Regions from separate parts of the Homo sapiens genome. Here all the other regions are linked to region 1. Evidence: promoter capture Hi-C in 16 types of primary human blood cells and fetal thymus (Javierre and others, 2016). All regions are on one chromosome and are shown on one strand. The core of a region is centred on a gene start or on the middle of the fragment in contact, and the rest is flanking DNA. Distances in the headings are between cores, read along the strand shown. Region 1 overlaps SUMO1 (small ubiquitin like modifier 1). Region 2 holds the start of BZW1 (basic leucine zipper and W2 domains 1). Region 3 holds the start of PPIL3 (peptidylprolyl isomerase like 3). Region 4 holds the start of ORC2 (origin recognition complex subunit 2). Region 5 holds the start of CFLAR (CASP8 and FADD like apoptosis regulator). Region 6 holds the start of CYP20A1 (cytochrome P450 family 20 subfamily A member 1).

Region 1 (4,891 bases), core at 625-3,124:
AACGGCGGTGGCCAGGGCCTTCCCTGCAGGTCTGCCTGCCGCTAGGCTGGGGTCGGGGATGGAGGCGCGGGGGAGGGGAGCGCGGAATGGGGGAGGGGGCGGCCGGTGGGGACTAGGCAGGCGAGGGAGAGGAGCCGACTACGGCCGGAGGTGCCGGGGCCTGCTGCGGGGCTCCCGGAGCCGCCCGCCCCTCTCCGGGCTCGCTCATCACCCCCGTACCCCACCGCCTTTGGTGGCGGCCTCCCTCATGTCGTCCCACTTCTTTCTCCCGGGTCGACTAGGTGCAGAGCCCCGCTTCCACCTCCCTGGGAGGGTCTCTGGAGAACCCGTCCGTCTCCTTCCAGAGGACTAATCGCAGAAGCAGGGCCCTAGGCCTTAGTTATGTAACGGGAGAGAATCCCTGACTGGGAGGCTCCGTGGCCCTGAGAAGCGGCTGGACTCTCCACTTTTTGCTTCTTCGTCGGGAGGGCGTGGGGCGGCGAGGGAGGGAGACGTCCGATGTTGTTGGGAATCCTGCCTCCGTTCGGATTGGAGCTAGGGCAAGGATGCCGCTGCTCTCCTCTGAGTCTTTTTCCGTGTGGGGGTGCAGAGCTGTCGCCTCTTTACTGTACTTTCCCGTTTCTTACTCGGGATTGGTTCATCCTAGCTCTCCAGTTGTAAGAGAGCATTCATAATAACCAAGAAAGAAAATAGAACTAAACTGCTAGAGCAACAAAAAGCATCTCACCTGGGCATTAACCTGAGGAAGTCTCATATTTTTGAGGAAAAGCATAGGAAAACTTTGTGTATGTAGAGTCGTTGCAGAATATTTGCAGAAAGTTGCCTGGTAAGGCAAAGTGCTCCAGCTCACTGTTAGTATCAATAATTTACTTGGGATTTGCACTTAATCAGGAGTGATCGATTTCCCCTTTTCTTCCTCATCCTGTTCTAATTAAACAACTTTATGGCTAGTTTTTAATTCATAAAGTTTTTGTCTGGTCTTTTGTTTGCTCAGACGACTTTGACTTTTTTTTTTTTTTGAGACGGAGTCTCGCTGTGTCGCCAGGCTGGAGTGCAGTGGTGCGATCTCCACTCACTGCACCCTCCCGCCTCCTGGGTTCAAGCAATTTTCGGGCCTCAGCCTCCCGAGTAGCTGGGATTACAGGCACTCACCACCAGGCACTCACCACCACACCTAGCTAATTTTTGTATTTTTAGTAGAGACGGGGTTTCACCATATTGGCCAGGCTGGTCTCGATCTCCTTACCTCGTGATCCGCCCACCTCGGCCTCCCAAAGTGCTGGGATTACGGGCGTGAGCCACCGCGCCCAGCCGACTTTGACTTTTTACATTATTTTTGGACTTTTACTCATTTAATGGTAGTTATTCAGAAAACTATTTTTCATTCAACTCCACGATGTACTTGAACTTTTAAATTTAACACACCTATTCCCTTGGCTTTTAACCCAGTTTTGTACCATTTCGTGAGAGCAAGTGAGGTTTTTGCAGATTGGTACTATTGTACAAAATGTACACTTAACATTTTAAAGCTTAACCATAATCTAGATGAATTTTGGATGGATCTACTTACTAATAATCTAGATTAATTCCCAAGTGGGCATTGTGTTTCCCTAGGTAGTTGTTTACTTGGTTACTAGGAAGAAAAGTATAGGCGTAAATGCTTAGTTTCGTCAGCCTTTTATTTTGTTTCCCAGAAGCGTCTAGGAAGCATTTTGAAATTTATTGTAGACTGATGGAAGAGCAACATAAAGAAATAATTATAAAATGTAGAATTTATTGCTCCATTTTGAAGTCAGGTTATTTAAGAGATACATAAAGAAATGAAGGACCTAGGATACAAATAGATTCTTTTATTTCATGTTCATACTAGGACATTATTTGTCTTTTTCACTGTCATTCTTTCATGAGTGTTCAATGGACGTTTCTAGAAACTAACATGACTTGTGATAAAACAAATTAAATGTGGAAGCAGATGTGAAAATCCAGCTGTTTAGCTGTTTTTATTAAGCCAGACATTAAAGAGATTTGCAAAAATGTGTAACAGTCCCACTCTTTCATTAATTTTGTTTTGAAAAATATTTTTAATAAAAATATATATTTGTTAACATATAACAGGTTTGTTGGTATTTTAAAATGAATTAATATTTAAGACATTTCTCAGTTTTCAGTGTTTAATACTGTAAACATCAATAGATGTAACCAACCTAACAAAAGCTTTATGGGATTCTAAATAAATTTAAGTGTAAGATTCCTGAGAACAAAAAGTTTGAGAACTGTTGCTGTAGGCTGATTGACCAACATCATTAGGACTCGCCGGGTGCAGTGGCTTAAGCCTGTAATCCCAGCACTTTGGGAGGTCAAGTTGGGTGGATCACGAGGTCAGGAGTTCTAGACCAGCCTGACTAACATGGTGAAACCCCGTCTCTACTAAAAATACAAAAAATAGCCAGGCGTGGTGGTGCGCACCTGTAATCCCAGCTACTCAGAAGGCTGAGGCAGGAGAACTGCTTAAACCCGGGAGGCGGAGGTTGCAGTAACTGGAGATCACTCCACTGCACTCCAGCCTGGGCGACAGAGTGAGACTCCGTTTAAAAAAAAAAAAAAGACTCAGTACATTGGCCGGGTGCAGCGCCTCACACCTGTAATCCTGGCACTTTGGGAGGCCTAAGTGGGGGAGGATTGCTTGAGCCCAGTTTGAGACCAGCCTGGGCAATATAGAGAGACGTCGTCTCTACAAAAAATAAAATTAGCCAGGCATGATGGCCTGTACCTGTAGTCCCAGCTACTCAGGAGGTTGATATGGGAGGATCACCTGAGCCTGCGAGGTCGAGGTTGCAGCAAGCCAAGATCATGCCACTGTACTTCAGCCTGGGCGATAGAGACCCTGACTCAAAACAAAGAAGACCCAGTACAAGTTCAGTGTTGAGTGCTAAAGACTTAAAAGAGTTATAAAGCTGAACCCTTAATCTTAAGAGGTTTATAAGTGAGAACAAGAATCTCCAAATCCTGTACTGTTTAATATCAGCATGAGACTAAACCACTGTCCTAAGAAGACAACCTTAATTTGAATCAAGTTATTTTAGAGTGATGTGTTTTCTGAGGCAGCTCTCAGAAGGTTATTGTCTGGTGTTAAAATAGTGAAATTGAGTAATAACAAGGTTAAAATCGGTGGACATTAAATACACACAAGACTTCAATTGCTGGGTCCTCCATTGATTAATGAAAAAATGATTGTTTTTGGAATTTGAGTGAAACACTTCTTAATGGCTGAGTAGGGTGGCTTACGCCTGTAATCCCACCACTTTGGGATCACTTGAGGCCAGGACTTTGAGACCAGCTTGGCCAACATGAGGAAAGCACGTCTTTACTAAAAATACAAAAATTAGCTGGGCCTGGTGGCTCATGCCTGTAATCCCAGCTACTTGGGAGTCTGAGGCGAGAGGATCGCTTGAGCTTGGGAGGTGGAGGTTGCAGTGAGCGGAGATCATGCCACTGCATTCCAGCCTGGGCGACAGAGCAAGACTCTGTCCCAAAAAAAAAAAAAAAAAAAAAAGAAAAGGAAAAAAAACAAAAAACTTTTTTTTTTTTTTTTTTTTGAGACGGAGTCACAAAAAATTAGCCACCATGCCCAGCTAATTTTTTTGTATTTTTGGTAGAGACAGGGTTTCACCATATTGGCCAGGCTGTCTCGAACTCCTGACCTTGTGATCCGCCCGCCTCGGCCTCCCAAAGTGCTGGGATTACAGGCGTGAGGTGCCGTGCCTGGCAAAAAAAAAAAAAACACAAAAAAACCCACTTCTTTATAATTTTAACAATTCCAACATCATCTAGTAGATTTGTGTACCATTATTAAATAATCCTTTAAAATAAGTTCTAAACCTAAGGCCCATAGACCATAAAGACTGAAAGTTCGCTTACATTGTATGGAGTGTTTTGTGAGTATTTGTGCATACGTATTTTTTTTTTTTTAAGATAGAGCATTGCTCAATTGCCCAGGCTGGAGTACAGTGTGGTGTGATCTCGGTTACTGCAACCTCTGCCTCCTGGGTTCAAGTGATTCTCCTGCCTCAGCCTCCCTAGTAGCTGGGATTATAGACACATGACACCATACCTGGCTAATTTTTGTATTTTTTGTAGAGATGGGGTTTCATCAGGCTGGTCTCGAACTCCTGACCTCAGGTGATCTGCCCGTCTTGGCCTCCCAAAGTGCTGGGTTTACAGACGTGAGCCCAGCCATATATATATATTTTTTTTAAATAGGAGAAAGGACCCATAGTCTCATCAGGGGTACGTGATTCCTCAAAATGGTTAAGGACCATCCTTTAACCAGTAACAGAAATCTGATTGGGTGCTTTCCTTTAGCCCAGTCTCACCTTGTAGCAAAACAAAGTGCTCGTACAGAACCCGAAGCTTAATATCAAAAGGATAAGGGTAATTTGTACAAATATTTTCCCCTTCCTCCTTTCTGATATTTGAGTTTATAGTGTTTCTTTTTTATACCAAAATCATTAAAGGTAGCTTGGTCAGCTCTTCAATTCAAGTCTGTTAATTGTAGCAATTGGATGACTGTTCCACTCTAACTGAATCTGTATTAACACCCCCAAAGAGAGATTGAATGATTTCCTTTTATCTTTAGTCAAGGATTTGGAAGCATTGTGTAATTCTGATTATCTGATACATTACCTCAAAATTTTGTGACTTAAAACAACAGCCATTTATTTTGTTTATAAATCTGCAATTTGGACAGGGCTCTGTGGATTAGACTCACCTCTGCTTCTTGGTGTGTGGGGCCTCAGCTGAGATGACTCAAGTGGCTGGGGGCTGGAACAGCTAGTTGTCAGGTGAGATGAGACTGGATGGGGCAAGTGTCTCCATATAGTCTCAGAGCCTT
Region 2 (4,891 bases), core at 1,155-3,654, 1.4 Mb after region 1:
GAATCATCTCTATCTGGAACCGGGGAAGTTACATCTCTCCCTGATGCTAATAATAAGAATGCTAAAGCTACTTGCTATTATTTGTATCAAGGTAACATCAGTAACCCACATATTCAAGAGATACACTTTCCCATTTTACTGCCAAACTGTTCTAGTTTACAACTCCAGCTCCTTAAGAAAATTTACCAGCTAAATCTAAATGAATCTGCAAAGATTAGAATCAAATCACACTTTGGTCTCCCCACCACTACTACAAGGGGACAGACAGCCTATGATTAGTGATTTTAAAATTCTACAATATATATCTCAAAATGTCTGCTACTTAAGGAAGAAAAAGAAAAACACAACTTATAACCAGTAGCTGACCTAGTTCTTCATTTCCTCAAAACCACCTGTAAAACAAGGTTAATATGCTTTTGACCAAAAACAGTAAAAATATATCTGAGACTACGTCTTATTTAGCTTTATATCACTAGCACAGCACTTTGCTACAGAATTCAATACTCACCTAAGTACACACTAATGCAAAAAAAAAATAGTAATATAATTCTAATACTTTTTCTACTAAGTCTGTATTTCAAAAGACATTACAATGTGAATCCTGTTCCACAATTAACTTCCATGGGTGAAGTCTGAGTTTTCTCTCACAAATCTTCACAAAATCTGGGTGACTACATTAGGAGTTCTCCTTTTATAAATTAACATTTTTGCTCATTTAAGTTTGCTTAAATGAGACTGCCTGCTAGTGAAAACAGAGCCCTTATTTTTATTTTTAAAAATATTTTACCTTCACACCGAAAAGAAGATTCACTAACCGGCTTAGAGATATATTGATACTAAAAATTAAGGCTTGAGCAGTAAAGCAGTAGAAATATTAAAGGTGTATGTGAAATGGCAGTCAACGAGAAATTCAAGTTTCTTTCTGGTATCTTCTTTTGAGGCTTTAGTAATATGCAAGTACCTGTCAGAGAAGGCAAGATACACAAGATGTTCTGGAGGTTTGAAGAGAGACATTAAAACGTAAATATTTACCTCTTTTTCTAGTTTTAAAACGCTGGCCTGATAGCGTTGGCTTTTGCTGCTTTTGATTATTCATAAAAGACACCCTAGGAAAGGAGAAATAAAGCCTTAATATCAGTGCCATAATACTAATTTTTAAAGCAAAACATCAAACCTTAGTCTAGTCACATATGAATCAAATGGAACACCCACTCTCAGGATATAAAGCTGGCAATTATACCCGATACAGGCACAAAGAATTACCTGCACTTGAATCAAATGTACGTCAAAATGTGCATTTCTCTCTACAAGAAACCCTTCAAATTAGTGCTGTGAACTACTTTTAAGCGACATTGTAGTGCTACAGTGATCACCCGTCATAAACCTAATTGTTCAGTTTTCTCCACATTCCTCTTTACATTCACTTACATCTTCCACGACCACTAAGCATCGCAGAACGCAAAGAGAGATTATCACCATAGTCAGCAGGCATCCAAAATGTGTATGCCAATTCTAAAACACTGTCAAAAGGTGAACCCCTTCTTCTGACAAGCCTGGTTACGGGCAGCACCATCCTACCCTAGGTCATGCCTGTGACCGCAACAGCGGCCGCCTTGCACCACTCAGGCCTGCAAAACTAACAGCCAGCCCAGCCTCCTTCGCCCATATCCCACAGTCCTAGCCTCCTCCCCGGTAACGTGTCTCCCAATCCACACCCTTCCCATGCCTCCCGCCCGAGCCACAGATCACCCGCTTCCCGCCCAGGACCCCATCGGCCACAGCGGGGCGCCGTAGGGTCCCGCGGCTCTTTCTCCACTGACCCTGTCGCCTGCGGTGGCGGCCGCCGCAACGAGCGGACCACAGTCACTGAGGCGCTTTGCGCCGGGGCCCCAGGCGCCCCGTACATCCGCCCGCCCTCCAGCGAAAGCAGCGGCGGAGGCGGCGGCCGCAGCGGTGGTGGGTGGCAGCCCCTCCGCCCCGCCCGCCGGAAGCCCCCACGCGTACATCACACAACAGAGGCCGCGGCGGCTTTGTTAGCCAGGCCGGGCACGGCCCAGAGGGAGCCCGCCTCGGCCACTGCCTTCGCAGCCAGCGCCGCGGCGCACACCCGGACCCCACCTCCCCACCCGGGCCGCCGCTACCCCTCGGCCTCCCTGCCGAAGCGGCGGCCTTTCAGGCCCTAGATCCGGCCCGGCCTCAAGAGGCGACCTCCGTTCGGGCCCATCCAAGCCGGGCCGCATCCAGCCCGCCGCCTCCCTCTCCCTCTGCCCGGCGTCCACGACCCGCAGCGTCCGCCCGGGGTGAGCGGGGCGCCGCGTCTCACCGAATTTAAGGCGAAGAGGAAAGAGCCAGAAATCCCCGATGTACCGGCAACTGCGGCGGTGTCTCCTCTGCGACCGGAACTAACGCCAGGAGGAGGGAGAGGTGCCACCCCCGCCCGGACCGCTCTCCTATCGCGAGATTTCTTCCCCTTGCCCCGCCCTGATCGTGGACAGGCGCTTCCGCCTTTTCTATTGCGCGCGGATTAGGGTGAGGGACTGGGATAGGGGAGGGGAGAGACGTTTCCAGTCTTCTTTATTCCCTTACTGGGTTCCACGTCGCCTGGACACTTGTCCTAGACTAGCTTATTTTTCTTCCCCCGCTGCGTCGTCCGCCCTCTTCACACATGGAGGGGTTGGAAGAGCGGAGCCGGCCCCCGCCGGTCTCGAAGTTGGACGCGTCCTCCTGGAGTCCCTCGCCGCCGGCCCCCTCCTCCAGCACCGGAAGTCGAAGCCCGAGGGCGGGGGGCCCTCGGGTCGTGCGGGGGCGGAGGCTGGGGGCGGGCATGGGGGCGTGGTTTGGGGAAGGAATCCGCACCTCGCCTCCGCCCTGGCCGGGATGGGCGGAGTTCGCTCCAGCTGAGTCCCCTGCCTGGCGACTTTTCTCTGAGGGGCTGTCTCATTGTTCACTACCTCCCTTAAGAGCGAAGAGGACACAGGCCGAAGATTGAGAAGGGGAAATTCTGTCCTCCAACCGCGGTCCCTGCGCGCTGCAGCGGTTGTCTCCCGAGTGTGGTGGCTATGGGGACTTGGAGAGCATCAGAATCCCTTGGAGGACTTGTTATAACAGACTGCTGGGCCCCACCCGTAGTTTCTCATTCTGTAGGCCTGGTGTGGAACCCATGAATGTGCATTTCCAACAAGTTATCTGTGATGCTGCTGCTGGTCCGCACCTTGAGAACCCCTCAGTTAGAGGCTATATCATCAGGGAGCTGGGGTACGATCAGATTAGATAGTGCGTGTGAAAAGCACTGTGGACGTGACAAAACTCTGTGCAGATAAAGATGCACAGCGCCTCTAGGATGTAGCCCCATGTTTTTATTCACTGTACAGTAGTTTACTTCTCTCCAGTTGCTTCCTCACTCTCTGGTAGGAGGAGAGTGGCTTCTCTTCCCTAAACCTTTTGATAAAATAGTTTGTTGACTTCTTTTCCCTAATTAACTATCTGACCTCTACCCCACCCCCCCGCAACTTCATGGAAAAATGACTTTCTCAGCGTTCGTTCCTGAAATTATTGCCAAACCCAGTGTTTTATTCTTCACCCTGTTTGCCTCCTCTGAGCATTGAATGTTACCTACCTCTCTCCTTGAATCCTGGCTCCAGCTATCCTGGTTACGTTCTGAATGTGCCTTTGCACGGTATTTTCTGACTCTTCTTTTCTGTACTGATACCTTTTCTTTCTGGATACTTTCTTCTATGGCAGTCTCATACATTCTCAAGGATTTAACATTTACTCCACTTAAAAGAGTTCCAAGATCATCTACTGAATCATTAAGCAAATATTTGTTAAATCCAGGCTCTATGCCCTTCCAAGTTGAGGCAACAGCAGTGGGAAGGAGGCAGGAAACAAACTGCATCTGTTGGAGGAACTGCAAGAAGCTAGTGTGATTGGGAGGGCTGTGGGGAGCAGAGGGAAGTGGCTGGAGTCTGATCTCTAAGTGTCTAGCCCCTTCCTTTCTCCCAAGGCCCCAGTCCACACTATCTGGCATCTTCACTTCATGGCTAATTTAACACTGTCAGTGCTGTCAATTGCTCTTCCCCCAGAACTGTATTTTTCACATCTGAAGTTCTGTTAAAGGACAACGTTTCACAAATAAAAATGATAACTAATATGTCCCTATATGTATCAGGCCCTCTTCTATGCACTTTATGTAGTAACCCCATTTCATCCTGAAAACTACCCTGTAATCTAGACACTATTATTAGTCCCATTTTACAGATGGAAAAGCCGAGGCATCGAGGTCAGGTAACTTGTCTAAGATCATAGCGCTAGTAAGTGGAAGAGGTCCAGTTGAACCCAAGCAGTCTGGCTTCACCATTATAATGCACCGCCTTACCACCAAGATCTTATTTATTCATTCAACAAATATTTATTCAGCTAGAGACCAGTAGAGATAGTGACATGTTACGCCTATGGCCTCACAAAGCTTATCTTCTATTTTTGCCACGTTTTAAAATTGTATCATCTTTCCCCAGTACCATCTTGATTTAGGCATCTATTACCCCTAACTAAATGGGACTTTTGCAATAACTTCCTAACTGTACTATCCCCTTTCTCAACATTTCCAGAGCAATCTTCTCAACTGCAAGCTGAATCATTTCTCTTCACTGTTTAAATGCCTCTGTTTATACTCAGGGATAGCTCTGACCAATGTTTTTCACCTTTACTTCCCATCACATTTGTGGTTCTTAACCTGTTATTACCATCATTGTGGGGTATGTAGCAAATGATTTTTGACTAAAAATGATATTAAAGTAAGCAGATTATTTTCTTTAAAATGTAAAGTGGATTAAAGGTTTTCCTGAACTCCTGGCCTCAAATAATCCTCCCACCTTGGCCTCCTGAAGTGTTG
Region 3 (4,891 bases), core at 43-2,542, 1.3 Mb after region 1:
TTTTTCTTTTTGACACAGGGTTTCACTAGGCGCCTAGGCTGGAGTGCAGTGGCGTGATCTCAGCTCACTGCAGCCTCGACTTCCTGAGCTCAAGCAGATCCTCCCACCTCAGCCTCCTGAGCAGCTGGGACTACAGGCGCTAAACACCACACCTGGCTAATTTTTGTATTTTTAGTAGAGATGGGGATTCGCCATGTTGCCCAGGCTGGTCTCAAACTCCTGCGCTCAAGTGATCCACCTGCCTCGGCCTCCAAGAGTACCGGGATTACAGGGGTGAGCCACTGCGTCCGGCCTTGAAAGATCTTCTAATGGTCCTCATAGTACTCCATTCTCCAGCATTTTCTACATCTGGCAAGCTCGAAAGTGAAACCCTAGTGGGCCATCATGCAGGTTTTGAGTTATTTACTGTTACAGATGAGGAAACTGCGAAGCTACATGGCCACAGTCAACAACGACAACAGAAGGCAACATAGTATGGCGGTTAAGAGCACCGACTCTGAAGCCAGCCTGAATCCTAGAGCCAGAGCTGTGCAACAGCAGGTAAATGACTTATCCTGTGCAGTTTCCTCCTTAATGGAAATAGTGCCCAGGCCACAATATCGCGAGATTTACACGTAAAGCTGGAAACAACTCCCGTCCTAGAGTAAGCACTGTTTACTATTAAGCAGCATCAGTAGGGCCCCTTTGCAACCTGCAAACCGCTCCCTCGACGTTACCTCATCTATGCCTCATTTCAGTGCCACTTCAGGCCTTTTCCAGGACAGTGAAAAACCACGAGACACAGCCAGTTAAGTCTGAGTCAGGACCCCTGTCCCACTAGTGCGCTGTGCTCTGGTGCGGCAGGGCAGTTTTCTGACCCAATCTCCTCTTCTGCTGTCCTCTGCAGCACCAAGATAACAATCACAGCCGGCCCCAACCGGCACCTACCGCGAAGGTCACAACTACACTCGCGGGTTTTTAAATCGCCCACTACTCACCAGTCCCGGAAACTTCTCTGCGTCACTTCCGGTCCCGCGTCGGCGCTCCGGATGCTGTGGCACTTGGCTCCCCGTAGCGGGAGAGCTGGGCGGAAGTGGTCCTTTCCGTTTGGCAGCCGAGTGTAAAGCATTGCTTGAGGTTGCCCAGGTAGTTTCGCCTTACACTTCTTGTCCCAGTGCAATTATTAGTAGAGCTCCCTTTCACTGTCAAATTTCCGGTTGGGGATAAATTGCATTGTCGTTTTGGTTTGAGATAGGAAGATGAGGGGAGGAAGGAGGTGAGGCGGTAAGGGGCGTTCTCTCTCTTGGGTCCCGCGCCCAACTTCCGCTGGCCCAAAGAAACTATAATTTTGAACCAACAGACCTCTGCTGGCATCTGCGATTGCATTTTTCCTGTTTTAACAACGGCTGTGCTAGACGAAGTGGTGAAGCCCAAGTATGGAGTAACGTCATTAATTCTTTCATTCACTTATTCGAATGCTTGCTGAGTTCTGTGTTGCTACTGGTTTAGTTCTTGGGATACTGCGAGTGAACAGTGGGCGGCGAGGCTGTTGTTGCAACGTCAGAGTAAAAGAAGGACCCTGCACGGCGGCCTCCCAGCACTTCGGGAGGCCGAGGCGGGCGGATCACCTGAAGTCAGGAGTTCGAGACCAGCCTGGCCAACACGGCGAAACCCCGTCTCTACTAAAAATACAAAAATTAGTCGTGCATGGTAGCGCGCGCCTGTAGTCCCACCTACTCGGGAGGCTGAGACACGACAATCACTTGAACCCGGGAGGCGGAGGCGGAGGTTGCAGTGAGCCGAGATCCTGCCGCACTGCACTCCAGCCTGGCGACATAGCGAGACTCCGTCTCAAAATGAAAAAAAAAGAGAAGTTCATAGTATATTAGTGATAAGTGCTGTGGTGGAAAAAAAAAAGTTCATAGTATATTAGTATAAGTGCTGTGGTGAAAAAAAAAAAAAGCGAATTTCATAGTATATTAGTGATAAGTGCTGTGGGAGAAGGAAATAGGAATGTCCTAGGGCTGAAGGGCTAAAGCAGTTCTGTGTAGGATTGTCAGGTCAGTTAAACTTGACATTTAAGCAGAAATTTGGAGGTGAGGAAATTAGCCGTAGAGATGTCTGAGTATAAGAATTCCAGGCAAAAGGGACACCCAATGCCTGGACCCTAAGGGAAGGTATCTGGGTTATTGGGGGACTTGCAAGGAGGCTCTTGAAGAAGAGCAAGCCGGGCAAGTAGGAGATTGGGAGGCTTGAATCGGGTAGGATATCTTCTATAGCCGGGTTTTTATTACCTAGGGGATGCCATTAGAGGATTTTTTTTTTTTTTTTTTTTGACGGAGTCTCGCGCTGTCACCCAGGCTGGAGTGCAGTGGCGCGATCTCAGCTCACTGCAGCCTCCGCCTCCTGGGTTCAAGTGATTCTCCTGCCGCAGCCTGCTGAGTAGCTAGGACTACAGGCGCCTGCCACCACACCCGGCTAATTTTTGTGTTTTTAGTAGAGACGGGGTTTCGCCATGTTGGCCAGGCTGGTCTCGAACTCCTGACCTCAAGTGATCCACCCGCCTCGGCCTCCCAAAGTGTTAGGATTATAGGCGTGAGCCACCACGCCCGGCGAGGTTTTTATTTAAAATGTTCAGTAAAGATGAGCGTGTGTGAGTTAAGACAGGAAAATGAGCCTAATTCTTTTTTTCTTTTGGGACTAGAGACTTATTTTTGAGCTCGCTGTAAGACTGAGAAATCACGTAGTCCTTCCTGAAACCACTAAGAGGAAAAATGGTAAGTTTTGAGCAATTTTTATCTAATGTCTTTCATTATAAGTAATTTTTAGAAATTCAGTCAAGGGCAATAAAAGTTCATGGAAATTGCAGTGGCAAGATGGAGAAATTGTATAATATAGAAGCACTTAATATGGAATAATTCTTTTAAAAAATACACAAAATTGCTTTAAAATTCTTTAATGTTGTCACTTAAAATGCACAGAATTTACCTTTTTTTTTTTTTTTTTTTTTGAGTTTCACTCTTGTCTCCCAGGCTGGAGTGCAGTGGTGTAATCTCGGCTCACTGCAGCCTCTGCCCCTGGGTTCAAGCGATTCTCCTGCCTTAGCCTCCCCGGTAGCTGAGATTACACGCGCCTGCCACCACGCCCAGCTAATTTTTTGTATTTTTAGTAGAGATGGGGTTTCGCCATTTTGGGCAGACTGGTCTCGAACTCCTGACCTCAGGTGATCTGCCTGCCTTGACCTCCCAAAGTGTTGGAATTACAGGCGTGAGCCAACTCGCCCAGCCAGAATTTACCTTTTATGGAGAAAGATTGATTACAAGATAGATAGAAATGGAAAGGGAGAGTTGAAGGAGCAGAAGAGAATAGACAGGTCTGACAATTTTAATTGGATTATTTTGCTCTAGATCTAAAGTGGGCAACTAGGCTGGGCACAGTGGCTGACACCTGTGATCCCAGCACTTTGGGAGGCGGAGGTGAGAGGACTGCTTGATCCCAGGAGTTCAACACCAGCTTGGGCAACACAGTGAGGCCCCCGTCTCTACTTTTAAAAAAACAATTAAATAAAGTGGGCAACTAGAACCTGAAGTAGAAAAAGGCAATGAGAATAGTGCCCTGCTTCTCCCACACACATCTTTAACCTGCTCATACTCTCTAACTGCTAGGCCAGGCGCGGTGGCTCACGCCTGTAATCTCGGCACTTTGGGAGGCAGAGGTGGGCCAATCACTTGAGGTCAGGAGTTCGAGACCAGCCTGGCCAACATGGTGAAACCCTGTCTCTACTAAAAATACAAAAATTATCTGGGTGTTGTGGCATATCCCAGTAATCCCAGCTACTTGGGAGGCTGAGGCAGGAGAATTGCTTGAACGCAGGAGGTGGAGATTGTAGTGAGCCGAGATCACGCCACTGCACTCCAGTGTGGGCGACAGAGCAAGACTCCACCTCAAAAAAAAAAAAAAGGAGAAATGAAAAAGGAACCCTCCAAATTGTTTTCTCCCTCTCTGGAATACAGTATCATATCAAGGGGTATACAGGTTACAGAAAAACAGGTACAACAAAAACAAAAAGCAAGCAAGAAAGCACTGTGGTTATCTCTGCACATTTAAGATTTAGAAACACTGACACTTGTTATATTTTTGTTAGTCGAGAAAGGAATTATTTTTTAACCCTATTTCTCAGAATTAAATTACCTAAGGAAAATGGTGGAAATTATGTTTTGAAAAATCATTTTCTCATCATTTTTCTATAAATAAGGATGTTGGTGAATTGCCATGTACATCAATAATACATAACAATTGTTTTTATTTTTCTTGATAAAAAATTCAAAGTTAAAATAATTCTTTCCATCAAAATATTTACTTCCAAATTTTTGTCATGGATACTACTTAACCCTAACATTTATATTCTGGAGTTTTTTCTCTACTGTTGGGATCAATTTTGAGAAAAAAGTACAACTTAACCTCTAAGAGCTGCTTTGTGGATGGGTCATCTCTGAAGCAGTATTTCTGTCTGTTTTTATTCAGATTATCATCTTGAATATCCACACAGGGAAATAAACAATGCATAAAGTCACCTAAATAAATTTCATTTGTTCTCACATTTTCTCTCCTTTTTAGTCTGTGACACTGCATACAGATGTAGGTGATATTAAAATTGAAGTCTTCTGTGAGAGGACACCCAAAACATGTGAGGTAAGTACTATTATTTACATATTCAACATCAGTTAATACAACAAGATAAGCACTTTGGAATTGAATAATCTAACCTAAATAACAACAACAAAACTTTCTGTAAAACCATTGTTAGGGAAAACTAGCCATCCTAACTTCTGGCCTGATTTCCACTTATTTGTCCAATGTCAAAGGTGGATCAAAGAGAACGTAGATAATTTTTCGGTAACGATAGAGTAGC
Region 4 (4,891 bases), core at 1,577-4,076, 1.3 Mb after region 1:
GCTTTTAACGTATTCCTGAGACTACCACCTGGAGTTCTGTGAAAGGAATAGGCTTCTTACTGGCTTCCCCCTTTCAGGCCTGGATTCCAGCTAACCAACTTATGTTAACCTGTTTTTCTATTCTGTTAATTTTATGTTTACTAACTTCAATAAAAAATTCTGATTATTATTTTACTGGTATTTAAAAAGTCTTCAATTCACCCTGTTTCATAGATTAGATTTTTAAAAGCCAGTCCCTAAATTTCAAACTATTACCCAATTAGCTGCTTGTGCCTCTACTCTTATAGTATTGAGCTTCTATTTCCCCCTTTGGAACAGTCTACTTGCCCTGCGCAAAATTTCCGTGAATACATGGGGAGTTGCCATTTTATGGTCCCCTCTGACTTCAGCTTCCTGCTGCTCCTAAATCCTGTGTCTCCATTCTGAAGGTATGGCTCTTTGTTTTTATCTTAGTGTCAACCTAAAAGCAAAACTCAGCTCCTTCCCTCTATTTTCCACACATATACCATAAAAACTACATCCAAACCCACCACTCACACCAAGGCCTCTGTGGTCTGTAGAAGCCTTTTTTCAAGATGTGAGAAGGAGAGGAATGAAGGGGAGTTTACTGACATCATAGAAATATAAAAAAACAGCCAGGTGCAGTGGCTCACACCTGTAATCCCAACACTTTTGGAGGCCGAGATGAGTGGATCACTTGAGCTCTGGAGTTGGAGACCAGCCAGAGCAATATGGTGAAACCCCCACTCTACAAAAAATACAAAAATTAGCCGGGTATGGTGGTGTGCGCCTGCAGTCACAGCTACTCAGGAAGCTGAGGTGGGAGGTTTGGTTGAGAGCAGATAGTCGAGGCTGCAGTGAACAGTAATGTTGCCACTGCACTCCAGCCTGGGCGGCAGAGGGAGACTGCATCTCAAAAAAAAAAAATTATATATATAAAAAACACACATAAGTTGAACATATCTATTCAACATTCCTAGATCTTCATCTTTTTTTCAAATTTCTTTTCTTTTTTAAGAAATGGGGTCTCGATGTGTTGCCCAGGCTGGAGTGCAGTGGCTATTCACAAGTGAGATCACTGCTCACTGCATCCTGGAACTCTGGGATGCAAACAATCTTCCTTTTCTCAGCCTCACAAGTAGCTGGGATTACAGGTGTGTGTGCTGGGCTAGTCATCTTCACATTTTTAAACACTCTTCAAACACATCATTGTTAACTGTTGAGCTATGTTCTCTTTATCTTCTGTCTCTAGTCACTCCCCAAATTCTTATTTATAATGCACAAAAAATTGCCTTTCTCTTCCATTTTCTTAACTCCACCTAGCCAAAATGGAATAATGAGGTATCAAGGCTATGATCATTTCTTTCTCAACTGGATTTCCTAAACAGCTCCCAAATCTTGTGACTCTATATCTTCCCTCCCAATCCTACCTCCTTTATCCAAAGATCTTTCAATACAAATCTGACCAGTGCCCTAAGGGCCAACTAAGCCCTTCATAATAACAGACCCAATGCTTGGCATTTTACACAGCTGTTACACGGATTTGGACCTTCTACCTGGAAAATTTTACCCCTCTTGGCCTGTTTTAAATCTATTCAACACAGGGGTTTCAGTTTAAACATCTCTTCCTCCTAGAAAATTGTTCCTGACTCCTTCTGGGCTTTTAATTAGCTACTCCTACCATGTGCTCCAATGCACTTCCCATATCATGGTATTTTTCTCAATATTGTCCGTTCAATATCTTCACGTGCTAGGTAACTACAGTGAATGCAGAGATCGTAGTTGTCTCGCTCGATAATGAATACTTATCTTCTGTTCGCAGAGTACTCTGTAGTTTTGTTTTGAGTAAGTGAATCCAAATGAAACAATACCCTGTTCTTAATACTGTATGGATCCCATCCAGGTTCATTCCTTTTCTTCCTCATTTTCTCTGTCTTGTCTTTTTTATATTTTGGATAGTTGAAGTCAATCATTTTCTCTGTCTATTCATTCTATTTCCCCAGCCTCTTCATCCCACTAGCCGTCCGATCCCATCTCCATATTCAGTGCTTCTCCTAACGTCTCTTCTTCTCCCTACCCCAAACCCTGGAGATGTACAAGATCCTACCTTTCACGCCAAATGAAGAAAATCTTTAAAAAAGAAATGCGAATCAATTTCCATTACCTTTTTCTTCAAAAGGTAGCTGGGAAACCAATGAACACTTTTTTTTTTTTTTTTTTTTTTTTTTGAGACGGAGTTTCGCTCTTGTTGCCCAGGCTGGAATGCAATGGCTCGATCTCGGCTCACTGCAACGTCCGCCTCCCGGGTTCAAGCGTTTCTCCTGCCTCAGCCTCCCGAGTAGCTAGTATTACAGGCATGCGCCACCACGCCCGGCTAATTTTGTATTTTTAGGAGAGACGGGGTTTCTCCATGTCGGTCAGACTGGTCTCGAGCTCCCGACCTCAGGTGATTCGCCCGCCTCGGCCTCCCAAGGTGCTGGGATTAGAGGCGTGAGACACTGCGCCCGACCCCAAAGAACACTTTTTAAAGATTGCTACAAGACAAACAGCTACCACTCAGCCAGCTACTGTGCAAACTTCCTCAGATCCAAACAACACTTCCTTTTCCCTTCCCCGGAAACGGAAAGAAGAAAGGAAAGGTAAGGCCCACAACTCAGGGCCCAAGAATCCGTTTTCCTCAGGTTTCCTGATGGGCGGGGCCGAATGGCCGGCGCCGACTGGACGGCAGAGCCGTCGCTCTTGGCCGACTCCTCTTCCTATTGGCTTCCTCGGGCACCGCCCCCTGAACAGGGCGGGAGATTCGGTGTGCCGCACGCAGGCTTCCCATCCCCCAGCTGGCCTCCGGTGCTCCTTACCTCCCCGGTGGTCGGGCGCGAATTACTGGAAATTGGCTTTTCCCGTTGGGGCCGAAGGTACCTTCCCTGCGGCGGCGACTCAGCGGGGTGTCGTTCGGCCGGCGTGACGCAGCCGGATCGGCGCCAGACGGAAACCTAGCGGTGAGTAGTGGGGTGTCGGGGCAGCCTGCCTCCCTTTTCTGCTTAGCTCGCGGCGTGTGAGGTGCGTCCAGGTGCACCCAGCCCCGCGTCGGAGCTTGGCCCCTAGCGTCCCAAGTCGCGCATCTCAGGACTTTCCCTCGGCACTTGGGGCATGGTCTTTGCGCCTCGCTGCCCCCCGCAGGCTGCCCGGGGGCTCGAGAACCCTTACTGGTGGAGCGCAGCCAACTGGCCAGAGGCTGGAGGCGCAGGCCAAAGTCCTTTAAGACTTGAGGTGAGAGGCTCACTCTGGGAGGACCTTTCGTTAGTCTGCCCCGCAGTTATAGGCCTTTTGTGCAAGGGACGCCTGATACTAACCTACCTGATTCCCAGCTTACGAAGCCCTCTGGTTGGAAAAGGAGAACTGTGAAGATGTGTAACGACAGTGGTAAAGTGCCCTGTGAGGTATGAAGAGGAAGAGATCGCGTCCCAGAACCACTGTAGCTAGAACCTTTGATGTCATCCCAGCCTGGAGGCACCAATGTGTCCTGCCAGCTAACTGATCGGTCACCTTGGAGCCATGCTTGGCTGTAAAATGTTGATAAGCCAGGCTCTTTTGGTAGAGCTTTTTAATTAAAAAGATGTTGAGACGTTACTTTTCATTTTACAATTGAAATCCTAATAGAATCATTACACTTTCCCGCAGTTAAATTGCAATCTGAAGAAAAATAGCACGGCCCTACACCGTTATATAAGGGCACTGCACGTTAAACGGACATCATCACTTATTGAGCAGTTTTTCTGTTAGATGTTGAATGAGTTAGAGATGTACAAGAGATCTGCATGGTTAAGTTGAAGTTTAAAGTAAAAATATCTCAGTGCACTGCAGTAAGGAGCTAAAAAAGAAAAAGGTTAAAGTAAAAATACCGATAATTGGGAGCATTCAGTGATGCTCTTTTATATATCAGGCACATCATTTCATTTAATCGTCAGGACTTTGGACAAAGTCACACAGTTATAAAGTATGGAGTGGAGATTGGAACTCAGGTTTCTCCAATATTAAAATTGGTGTTTAACCACTAATCTATCCAACCTTCTTTTTCAAAGGATTATGTTTTTAAAAATTACAGCAAATCTTTTATTTGTTTTCAAAGGAGAGTGTGTTGCTACCACTTGGTGCAATGCTAACACTTGGTGCTGCAGAATTGCCTTGAAGTAACTCCTTGAAAGGGGTTGGCCTATAAGCACCAAGGCAGTGCCTTGAGGGGTCATAATGGTCACTAAATATTGCATTTTATTGTGTGATTGTTAGGTTTTTTTGTTCGTTTGTTTTTCAGGAACTGTTGGAAAGCAAAGAAGGAAACGTTTCTCATGAGGTCTTTGTAGACATTTTCTTTAATTTGGTGATTTTGTACTATTTAATAAGATGCTCCAAAATTAGAAAAGGAAATGTTTGTATAAATGCACTTGGCTACAAACAAGTCTCAGGCTGCCTCTCTCCAGGCAATTCTTGTGTAGAATACCATAGGGAAATTGCCTAGGACAATACTCAGTTGCCTAGAATATTTGTTTTTAAATTTTCCTAGAAAATCTTGTCCCCACATCCCCAAGAACAACTAAACTTTTGCCAATAAGAATTACGTAACCGACCTTTACTTGCTTTTTGCTTTGATTGCCAGGAAGCTCAGAGCCAAAAATTCATTGTGTGATTTTATTTTCTGCTTTCCTTTATATTTTTTCTGATGCAGACTCCCTATTAGCATTTATAAATTATAATTTGTTTTATTGCATTTGCTCATTGTCACTGCTTCAAATCCTTTGTAGTACACAGCAGTGTATAATTAAGTAAAATAATGTAGATTATGCTGACTCTGGCCATGCTCTTTGAAGTATGCTTGATAGAACTAGTGATGTTTCAC
Region 5 (4,891 bases), core at 1,330-3,829, 1.1 Mb after region 1:
TTCGCCGGAGGGCGTCCGAGAACCTCTGCCTGCTGAACCGCTTCACGCCTAATCCCCGCCACCCACCGGCTGAAATGTTACCACACAAGACATAAATTCTAGAATCCTGTCTGCGGAATTCCCCGCCCCCCGCGCAGTTGAAACTTGCACAGGGCCACTCGCGTGTCTCTGGGTGGTAAAATTCTCCATGCGTGGTCAAACGGCTTATGCATAGCTCAGGACCGTTACGTGCGACCCCACCAGGACTGAGTGGGGACAGCCGCTGCGCCCCCACCACCTACTAGGAGCTGCGGTAGGACCTCCAATGCCCCAGGGGCCTAGGCAATTTCCGCTTCAGCTTCCTGGAGGTCCCCAGCCCAAGGCTCAAAAAACTGCACACTATCCGGCCCACCCCGGGTCGCGCAAGACTTTCGGGGGGAGGGGGAAACCCAGCGACCCTGCAAATGGCTTCACCTTGGAAACCGGTATAAGGAAGCAAGTAATACCGTGTTAAAAGAAGGTCAAATGTCAGTTACAAACAGAAACGTAAAACATAAAGTCGCTAGAGAAAGCCATTTTAACGAGGACATTTGACCCAAAAGCTTAAGTAAAGCAAGTATTAACAAAACAAGAAAATGGATGTAAAGCAAACAGTAAACATTAAAAACTCCCTTTCAACCCAGTCTTTTTTGTTTAGATCTTGGAGTTGGGCCGGGCATGGTGGCTCACGCCTGTAATCCCAGCACTTTGGGATGCCGAGGCGGGCGGATCACCTAAGGTCAGGAGTTCGAGACCAGACTGACCAACATGGAGAAACCCCGTCTCTATTAAAAATACAAAACTAGCCGGGCATGGTGGTGCATGCCTGTAATCTCAGCTACTTGAGAGGCTGAGGCACGAGAATCGCTTGAACCCGACAGGCGGAGGTTGCGGTGAGCAGAGATAGTGCCATTGCATTCCAGCCTGGGCAACAAGAGTGAAATGCTGTCTCAAAAAAAAAAAAAAAAAAAAAAGATCTTGGAGCTCCAGCCAGGTTTTTTGTTCAACGAAACTTTTGTAAGGTTATTTAGGGGAATCACCAAACCGAAAAGTGCCAAAAACTCCGTTCCTCTTATCGGAAATCTCTCTCTAAAGCAGGTCAAACCTTCCAGAGCCCGCTGTCTGTTGTAGATTATCGCAGTTTGTTGATGTCCAAAAAGCTTTACTTATGCTATACGCTATCCCCCTACTGGTTTCACCCCTCATTGCTTAAGAACAAATTTCAAATGTCAACCAATTAAAATATTCGCAAGACCTCTGGCGTCCTTGAATTTACTTCCTGCCCGTGGAGCCAAAAACTGATTCTGAATTTCAGTGGCCTTTGTTCTACTGCGTGCCACTGTTAATATTAAAAGAACATGGCCTTCTGTCCAAATCCAGACACCCTCAAGCAAGAACATCTTGAAGCCAGTTTACATTTCCCAGTCGTTTTGAGGCGGTGGAAAAGTGGCAGAAACAGGTTCATTTTAAAAGGCTCTAAAAACTTTTCATTAGCCAAGCATTCCCAGCTTTCCCAAGGCAAGCTTTCCTTGCACTTGGGCAAAATAGACATTAAACTGCTCTGGAAAATAACCGCCCTGACCAGGCTATTGTGAAATTCCCTCCAGGGCGGCGGCTCCCACTGAGTGAGATCGAGCGCATACACAATTGTTGGGAAAGTCCACGTTCCCAACAACTTTCGAAAGGAAAAATGCCAGATCTTCTCAACAGTTCACCCCAAGAATTGAACTCTCAAGATCATTTTAAGCAAAGTTTACACGACGCTGAGGGCCCGCCACTGAAGCTCGCGGGTGGGCCTCTGGGGCTGCGGCTGCAGGGGGCGGCCAGAGTTGGCCAAGGGTTACTTCCGGTCTCTCAGGTCCATCGGGGTGCAGCTTGTACCGCTGTGGCCCAGGTCGCCCCTTTCTGGGAATCCGGGGCGGAGTTGCGGGTAGAAGGGGTTCGGGGGTTCGGAGCCGGGCGGAAACGGAAGCGGGGGCATTCCGCAAAGCCCGCGGTAAACAACCGAGATAAGGAACCTACAAAACTGAGTCAGGTTCCAGAAGCGCCCCCGCCATCCCCTGGCCACTGCCGGCCACCTGCAGTTTCCCGGAGCGCAGGGCTGTGAGGAGCGGCGCGGGGTGGGACGCGGGGCGCGGCGGCGCAGGGCCTGCTGCAATGCTGACTCAGGGCCGGGCGTCGGGGCTTGGGGTCTGGGACAGCTCCGGCGCCGCCAGCGCGGGGGTCGAGCGCGGGGCACGTACCGTCCTGTCGCGGCCGGACTCTCCTGCCGCTGCCACCTCAGCCTTCGCTCCCCTAGACGCCGGGAAGGCGCACCCAAGATGGAGGCAAAGAAACCGAAAGCCTGGAAGCGGACTTGGTGCTGGGCGATCGCTGTTCGCGGCGCTTCTCTCCTACACCTCCTCCCGTGGTCCTTGTTGTCTCAGCTGTCACTGGACAAAAGTCCAATAGCCGGCACTCACTGTGTGAGGCCGAGTCCCCACCCCTAGCTCCGGGAGTCCCTTTTAGTTGAGACTCGTCGGTGAGGCTGCAAGCTCGCTGTTTCCTGCTATGGCTTGTGTGACTGAGTATGCAGTAACCGGGGGTGGATGTCGACACAAGTTCCACGCGTTAGGAGTAAACACTGCGAGTGTTTTTTTTTTTCTTTCTTTCTTTCCTTCTTTTTTGAGACAGAGTCTCGCTCTGTGGCCCAGGCTGGAGTGCAGTGGCGCAATTTCAGCTCACTGCAACCTCCGCCTTCCTAGTTCAAGCGATTCTCTTGCCTCAGCCTCCCGAGTAGCTGGGACTACAGGCACGCGCCAGCACGCCCGCCTAATTTTTGTGTTTAGTAGAGACGGGGTTTCACTGTTGGCCAGAATGGTCTCGAACTCTTGACCTCGTGATCCGCCCGCCTCGGCCTCCCAAAGTGCTGGGATTACAGGCGTGAGCCACCACGCCCGGCGCGAGTGTTTACAATTGTTGTCTGGGAGTCATAGCAAACGTGAACACACTTTGTGGTTTTTTGTGTGTATGTTTTTGTTTGTTTTTTTTTGTTTTCCTTCTTGAGACAGGGTCTCGCGCTGTCGCCCAGGCTAGAAGGCAGTGGCGCCATCACAGCTCACTGCAGCCTGGATTTCCCGCTCTCAAACCATCCAGCCCTCAGCCTCCCAAGTAGCGGGGACCACAGGTGCAAGCCACCATGCCCGACTAATTTTTTTTTTTTTTTGTATTTTTAGTAGAGATGGGGTTTCACCATGTTGGCAAGGCTGGTCTCCAACTGCTGGCCTCAAGTGATCCTTGCCCGCCTCGGCCTCCCAAAGTGCTGGGATCACAGGCGTGAGCCACCGCGCCCCTCTACGTTTTTATTTATTCCTAATAACTACTTTATTGTGATTCTTAAAGAGCTTTAACTTTTCTTGAGATAATTTTAAACTCACAGGAAAGGTGAAGAATAATACCAAGAGAGACTAACAGCAGGACGGCATGAAGAGCTCGGGATTCACCCCTAGTGAAACTGAAAATTATTTAAAACAACAAACAACCATTAACCATTTAAAGCCTTTGAAATGGTCCTAAGGGCAAACAGCAAATGAAGAAACATCTGTTCCAAAAAATCTATGAAAACTCTTGGATCAGAATGTGAGAGTCAGTCTGTGGTATTTAAACCAAACCTCTCCCTTTGTTCAGCAAGAGACTCCACTCCAGACTGCTGCAACTCAGAACCTCTCTCTTCCCACAGCTCCCAGTCAGAGACCAGCATATCAGCATTTCTCATCTTGCCCCTAGCTACCTGATGCTGAAGGTAAATCCTGGGGGAGTGTGGTGGAGAGGTGGGAGATTCCTTCTTCCATCCAGAGGCTCTACCTTGGGTGGAGTGCTGAGACACCAGAGGAGACTTCAGCTCTTTTTCTCCATCACTTTCACCCCATATTCACCCCCAACCTTTTTTTTTAATCTCTCCATCTTCCCAAGATAGTTATATTCTGTTTGATTAATCTTCAGTATATATGCTATTATAATCATGTAAACGGTAGTCACAGCCAAGTTATGTACCAAACTATGATTACTTTTCCTTTCCCACACAACTTTTAGTTTTTTCTGGAGTTAATAATTGTCTTGTTTTGTTGGTTTTTCCATGTAATTCTATCCTAAACTCTGTCAGTTATCCAAGTTTGGTTTTTTGTTTGTTTTTGAGACAGGGTCTCACTCCAGGCTGGAGTGCAGTGACCCGATCACAGCTCACTGCAGCCTTAACCTCCCAGGTTCAAGTGATCCTTCTGCCTCAGCCTCCTGAGTAGCTAGGACTACAGGTCCTAGCATGCCACCATGCTAGGTGTGCCACTACAGGTGCCACCATGCCCAGCTAATTCTTTAAAAAAAAATTTGTGGCCCGGCGCAATGGCTTATGCCTGTAATCCCAGCACTTTGGGAGGCTGAGGCGGGTGGATCACGAGGTCAGGAGTTCAAGACCAGCCTGGCCCAGATAGTGAAACCCCATCTCTACTAAAAATACAAAAAATTAACTGGGTGTGATGGCGGGCGCCTGTAATCCCAGCTACTCAGGAGGCTAAGGCAGAGAATTGCTTGAACCCGGGAGGCGGAGGTTGCAGTGAGCCTAGATTATGCCAGTGCACTCTAGCCTGGGAGACAGAGTAAGACTCCATCTCAAAAAAAAAAAAAAAAAAAAAAAAAAAAAAAATATATATATATATATATATATATATATATATATCTAGTAGAAGCGGGGGTCGTGGGTGGCAGGGAGTCTTGCTATGTTGCCCAGGCTGGTTTTGAACTTGCCTCAAGTGATCTTCCTGCCTAGGTCTTCCAAAGCACTGGGATTACAGGCATGACCACTGCTGCTCTTGGCCTTTCTTATCTTTTTAGTACACCA
Region 6 (4,891 bases), core at 1,069-3,568, 1.0 Mb before region 1:
ATATATTCAGTTACTCCTCAACATCTCCACTTGAATGTCTAACAGGCATCTCAAACCTAGCCCACCCAAAACCAACTCCTAATCTCTATAAATCCCCACTACCTCCCACCAAAACAAAACTAAAGAACAACCACCACCAGCAAAACCCCTGATCTTCCCTGGAATTAATCTATCCTTCCAGATACCAGGCTAAAAATAACTGGTGTTTTCCTTGATGCCTCTCTTTCACATTTCACATCCAATCCACTGGGAAATCCCATTGGCACTATCTTCACAATTGACTAGTTCTCATTATCTGTGCCACTACTACCATGATCCAAGCTGAAATGATAATATCCTCCTAATTACTTGGCTTGCTTCCATCCTTACCTGGAGACCCATGTCAATTCATGACTTAGCAACCACAATGATTCTTTTAAAATTTATCTAATAAAATTAAATTTGAATTCTATCCAATTTCAAATGGCATTCATCTGCTGAAATCCTCCAGTGGCACACAGCAAAAGTCCATTAAAAAAGCCTTACAAGTCATTTAAAATTTGTCCTTCACTCCCATCTTTCTGACTTTCTCTCCTCTGGTATCTTCCTCATTTACTACACTCTAACCACACTGGTCCCCTTGCTTTCCAGGAACACACCAGGCGTGTCTCCCTCTGAAGGTTTGCATTTGCTGCTCCCTCGACCCAGAATGCTCTTTCTCAGAATGGCTTGCACCTTCACCTTCTTCGCGTTTCTACTCAAATGTCTCCGTATCTCCTGGCCATCCTACTTTAAAATAACAATCTACCTATCCCCAACTTTATTTCTACCCACAATCCTATGTTATTTGTTTCTATTGTCTGTTCCCCTTCTCTAGGAAATAAATTCCAAGAGTCAGGAATTTTCTGTCCGGTTTGTTTCACGGCTGGATTCCCAGCACGTGGAACCATATCTGGCACATAGCTAGTGCTAAGAATAAACAGTGTGCTTCTATGAGCTGATCAAAGAAGAGTATCATTTTAAAATCACCAAAAATTCAAGAACCACTAAAATTGTTTAGTTTCTCAGAAAATAAGATTTCAGGAAGTCCCTGATTGTGTAGTTGCAAGATTCTAGTCTAATCCATTTACCTGCTCGGAAAAGAACATTTAAGAAGGTGTATGGTCAATTCCAGCAGTTCAGCTACTTTTCAACTTTCACTGTAAAACCACCACCTTGCTTTGTAGAACAGGTGTTTTTTGTTTGTTTGTTTGTTTGTTTTGAGATAAGAGTCTGGCTCTGTCGCCAGGCTGCAGTGCAGTGGTGCGATCTTGGCTCACTGCAAGCTCCGCCTCCCAGGTTCAAGCGATTCTCCTGCCTCAGCCTCCTGAGTAGCTGGGATTACAGGCGCCCGCCACCACAGCCAGCTAATGTTTGTATTTTTAGTAGAGACGGTGTGTCACCATGTTGGCCAGGATGGTCTCGATATCCTGACCTCGTGATCCGCCCGCCTCAGCCTCCCAAAGTGTGTAGAACAGGTTTTAAAGACGGTCCTCAGTCATCAACACTTTTGTTTTCAGACCCTCCCTCTCTCGCTGACGGAGGCAAGTGGAGAGAGGAGGACCGGAGGCTCGCAGAGGCGTCAGCGGCAGAGGAAACCTCGCACCCGAACCCGCAGCGCGGCGCTCTCCCCAAAGAAGCATTTGCCTGGAGCCCCTAAGAGGAGCAAGACCTGGACCTCGAGCACTTTGGATTCCAGTCAGGATAGATCGATGGACAGATGGAAAAGAGGAATACACAAGTGCTGGGAGAATCCTCAAGAAAGGAGAAAGGAGTGGCGCGCCCAGGAGTCTCGTCCTGACACACTGGGAAATGAAATTTGGGTTTGGCGAGTTATGGCCAAAAAGCTGCCCAAAGTACTTGAGAGCCGCCTTGGAGAGTGGCGCGGGGTGCCTGGCAAGGTGAGACCGGCCTGCGGGGGCGCGGGCTTTTCCTCAGCAGCTCTACGCCCGCCTGGCCCGGCGCCTGAGGGGTAGCGACGCAGCCCACGTCGCTCTCAGAGCTTGCCGGGAGGGGCGTCACGTGACTCCGGGTGCGGTCCCCGCGCTGAAGCTCTGGAGCGAACCCGAACCCTCCTCTCAGGCCCGCCCCCTGCGGCCCGCAGCGGGCAGGTTGGCCTGGATGCCGGCGACAGAGAGACTGGGGCGGCGCCCGGGGCCCCAGAGAGCCAAGACGGCGCTCACCGGATAGAGGTAGAGCACGGCTCCCACCAACGCCAGCAAGAAGGTAACGGCGAAGATCGCGAAGTCCAACATGGTTCTGCCGCCCAGGGAGCCACGTCTCGGATCGGCCGCTCCAGCAGCAGCGCCTCAGCCTGGCCCAATTTAAGGCATAGCGTGTGGGCGGGGGCACCCCGCGGGACCCGGAAACCAACGGGCCGCTGGGGGCGTGACCGAGGCCTGCGGCCGGCGCCAGAGGAAAGAGCAATGGATCGCCGAGGAGCCGGGGCGCGGGTTCCTGAGCGCAGCAGGCCGAGGCTGAGGCCGCCTAGCGCCAGCCTCCACCGCAAGGCGGGGATTTCGGTGCACACGATTTCAGACAGAATATGCCCGCGACTTCGGACCGGGTTGCTGGCGAAAGCAGAGCCCAGCTTTCTGAGAAAAGTTAGGAGTTAGTAGTGCTCTGTCCGCCCAACAGTTTTCGCAATGGATTCAGAATTAAAACCTCTAAACCGATGATTTTCGAAGAGTGGTCCCGGTACCAGCTGCATCAACGTCGCCCGGGAGCTCGTTAGAGATTCAGATTATCGATGCCGGGCGCGGTGGCTCCACCTGTAATCCCAGCACCTTGGGAGGCTGAAGCGGGAGGATCGCTTGAGCCCAGGAGTTTGAGACCAGCGTGGGCAACATAGTGAGACCCCAGTCTCTACAAAAAAAAAAAAAAAAAAAAAAAAAAAATTAGCCTACAGTGGTGGCGCTTGCCTGTGGCCCCAGCTGCTCCGGAGGCTGAGGCTGGAGGATCACTTTAGCCGGGGAGGCAGAGGCTACAGTGAGCCGAGATGGCACGACTGCACTCCAGCCTGGGCGACAGGGCGAGACCCTGTCTCAAAAACAAAACAAAACAAAACAAAAGGAAAACAAAATAAAAAGATTCTCGATCCCAAACTAGACCTACTGAATCAAACACTCGGGGTGGGCAGGGGTAGGGGGCGCGTACAACAATCTGTTTGAACAGAGCCCTCCCGGGGACACTGTTACACACTTAAATTTGAGTGAAAACCACCACTGATCTAAGCGGGACAGGGAAGTGTCTGGGAGTAAAACAAGAGTAGATACGCCTTGTTTCGCAGAATTTCTGTCTGAAGTACTAGTAAATGTGATTCTTTGACACTTTCTGGTGAGCGGAGGCTGCACACTGTTCAGGTTTCCTTGCTCTGTTAACTCTGACTTTCGGTAAATTGCTTCAGTTTTCTAAGCTTCCATTTCCTTCTATGTAAAAAAGTGAAAATAATACCACATGGAGTTGCCTGTAGGTTAAATTACATATTTTATGAAAATCACTTAGCACAGCTCCTGGCAAAACCGAATAAGTGCTATCTACGTCAGCATTTGGCGTTTGTTGCCCTGGGCATAAAATACCCTAGGACCCCTCTTTCTATTTCGCCTGGCTCAGAAGTTTTGACGTGGCTACTGAAATACAAGACAAGGCCTGCTACTTACTAGTGCTGCTTTTAGTGAAAGTGTGCTAAAAGTATTTATAGATTTTATAGCTTTAATAATATAAAATGTCAAGAACAGGCAGCAATTTGGCAAGAGAAATTCCAGATTGCATTTTACAGCTTCTATGATAAATGACTGTTACATAAGCAGGAAACATACCTCATTGAAAATGGCAACTCTTTTGGCATCTATAGCAAATATAATGAAACATGCTGTTTAATATTTCACTTGGCAGAAATTGTATTTTTAAGTCTTTCTCTGCATATAAATGTGCTTTAAACTGTCGTATGTTCAAAGTTCATTTTTAAGTCTCTTGTTCAGAATTTTAAAGATATTTCTTGTCAAACTGATGTTCCCAATAGGTTTTCAAAACAGTAAATGTAAGAGTTTTTTGTTTGTTTGTTTTGTTTGTTTGTTTTTGAGACGTAGTCTCCCTCTGTAGCCCAGGCTAGAGTGCAGTGACGGGATCTCGGCTCACTGCAACCTCCGCCTCCCAGGTTCAAGCAATTCTCCTGCCTCACCCTCCCGAGTAGCTGGGATTACAGGCACGCGCCACCATGCCCAGCTAATTTTTGTATTTTTAGTAGAGATGGGTTTCACCATGTTGGCCAGGCTGGTCTTTAACTCCTGACCTCGTGATTCGCCCCTCTGGGCCTCCCAAAGTGCTGAGATTACAAGCGTGAACCACCCCGCCCGGCCAAACATAAGAGTTTTAACTGCATAAGGTAGCCATATAACCGTAATCTTAGGTACCGTAATCTTAGGTACCAATCCTTCAAGATATCTAGAATTCTCTTTTAGTCCTAAATTGACCTACATCCTGAGACTCTCTGAACTTTGAGGGCTGTAAAAAAGAGACAAAAATTCCAGAAATTGTCAGGGCACCATATTTTATAGTGTGAGTCTCTAAACTAGACATCTACCTCCTCTTCCTGTGTTCCTAAAACGTTTTGCCCAGATACTCCCTAAAAGCATATATAAATAATATATATATAATATATATATACACATACACACATATATATCTTTTCACACATTTTTTGTATTGACATCTAAAATTTTTATCTTGACTTTAAAGGATTAAATTTCTGTCATATTATAAATATTCACGTTTTGAAATTGTTACAGCTCTCTTTTAAGTGTATGAAAAGGAATGTAAATATAATAGTGATGTGATAACTATAAGACTTTTTTTAAAAACACACAAACTTGGC

What was found. The method cuts DNA at HindIII sites, captures the fragments that hold promoters and counts their contacts. A CHiCAGO score of 5 or more calls a contact.
Region 2: the fragment with the promoter of BZW1 here is called in contact with a fragment that was not itself captured in region 1 in 2 of 17 cell types (total CD4 T cells and fetal thymus); the score reaches 6.1 in total CD4 T cells.
Region 3: the fragment with the promoter of PPIL3 here is called in contact with a fragment that was not itself captured in region 1 in 3 of 17 cell types (fetal thymus, naive CD8 T cells and total CD4 T cells); the score reaches 6.5 in fetal thymus.
Region 4: the fragment with the promoter of ORC2 here is called in contact with a fragment that was not itself captured in region 1 in 4 of 17 cell types (fetal thymus, total B cells, monocytes and 1 more); the score reaches 8.4 in fetal thymus.
Region 5: the fragment with the promoter of CFLAR here is called in contact with a fragment that was not itself captured in region 1 in 1 of 17 cell types (fetal thymus); the score reaches 6.2 in fetal thymus.
Region 6: the fragment with the promoter of CYP20A1 here is called in contact with a fragment that was not itself captured in region 1 in 2 of 17 cell types (total B cells and naive B cells); the score reaches 7.3 in total B cells.

The regions. Positions count from the first base shown.
Region 1 is chr2:202,233,528-202,238,418 of GRCh38, reverse strand. The region is part of intron 1 of SUMO1 (small ubiquitin like modifier 1); the gene reads left to right. Among named protein-coding and RNA genes, the nearest start is that of SUMO1, 2.6 kb to the left of the region's middle. RefSeq lists a silencer at 168-357. The HindIII fragment of the contact is 685 bases long and covers 1,532-2,216 here.
Region 2 is chr2:200,809,423-200,814,313 of GRCh38, reverse strand. BZW1 (basic leucine zipper and W2 domains 1) reads right to left here and starts at 2,404. Exons shown (of 12, transcript NM_001207067.2): 1 at 2,324-2,404; 2 at 1,033-1,106. The coding sequence starts at 1,096. BZW1-AS1 (BZW1 antisense RNA 1) reads left to right here and starts at 2,144. Exons shown (of 4, transcript NR_110275.1): 1 at 2,144-2,529. RefSeq lists enhancers at 1,051-1,566, 1,567-2,082, 2,931-3,190 and silencers at 1,831-2,200, 2,731-2,880. The HindIII fragment of the contact is 7,792 bases long and covers 1-4,467 here.
Region 3 is chr2:200,885,478-200,890,368 of GRCh38, reverse strand. PPIL3 (peptidylprolyl isomerase like 3) reads left to right here and starts at 1,292. Exons shown (of 7, transcript NM_130906.3): 1 at 1,292-1,413; 2 at 2,684-2,756; 3 at 4,597-4,671. The coding sequence starts at 2,754. NIF3L1 (NGG1 interacting factor 3 like 1) reads right to left here and starts at 998. Exons shown (of 7, transcript NM_001369441.2): 1 at 717-998. RefSeq lists enhancers at 215-464, 723-1,467, 1,355-1,604, 457-1,656, 1,725-1,774 and 1 more. The HindIII fragment of the contact is 11,124 bases long and covers 1-4,891 here.
Region 4 is chr2:200,961,595-200,966,485 of GRCh38, reverse strand. ORC2 (origin recognition complex subunit 2) reads left to right here and starts at 2,826. Exons shown (of 18, transcript NM_006190.5): 1 at 2,826-2,996. LOC105373835 (a long non-coding RNA gene) reads right to left here and starts at 3,054. Exons shown (of 3, transcript NR_187976.1): 1 at 2,856-3,054. RefSeq lists a silencer at 2,417-2,815 and an enhancer at 3,524-3,593. The HindIII fragment of the contact is 10,169 bases long and covers 1-4,891 here.
Region 5 is chr2:201,113,852-201,118,742 of GRCh38, reverse strand. It overlaps CFLAR (CASP8 and FADD like apoptosis regulator), which reads right to left and starts at 2,579. Exons shown (of 10, transcript NM_003879.7): 1 at 2,262-2,579. It overlaps LOC105373836 (a long non-coding RNA gene), which reads left to right and starts at 2,059. Exons shown (of 3, transcript XR_923785.3): 1 at 2,059-3,799. RefSeq lists enhancers at 1-153, 1-295, 644-693, 2,334-2,593 and a silencer at 2,094-2,303. The HindIII fragment of the contact is 6,122 bases long and covers 1,544-4,891 here.
Region 6 is chr2:203,236,445-203,241,335 of GRCh38, reverse strand. It overlaps CYP20A1 (cytochrome P450 family 20 subfamily A member 1), which reads right to left and starts at 2,318. Exons shown (of 13, transcript NM_177538.3): 1 at 2,202-2,318. The coding sequence starts at 2,273. RefSeq lists enhancers at 1,598-1,887, 1,711-2,282, 2,568-2,617 and a silencer at 2,288-2,497. The HindIII fragment of the contact is 4,599 bases long and covers 1-3,435 here.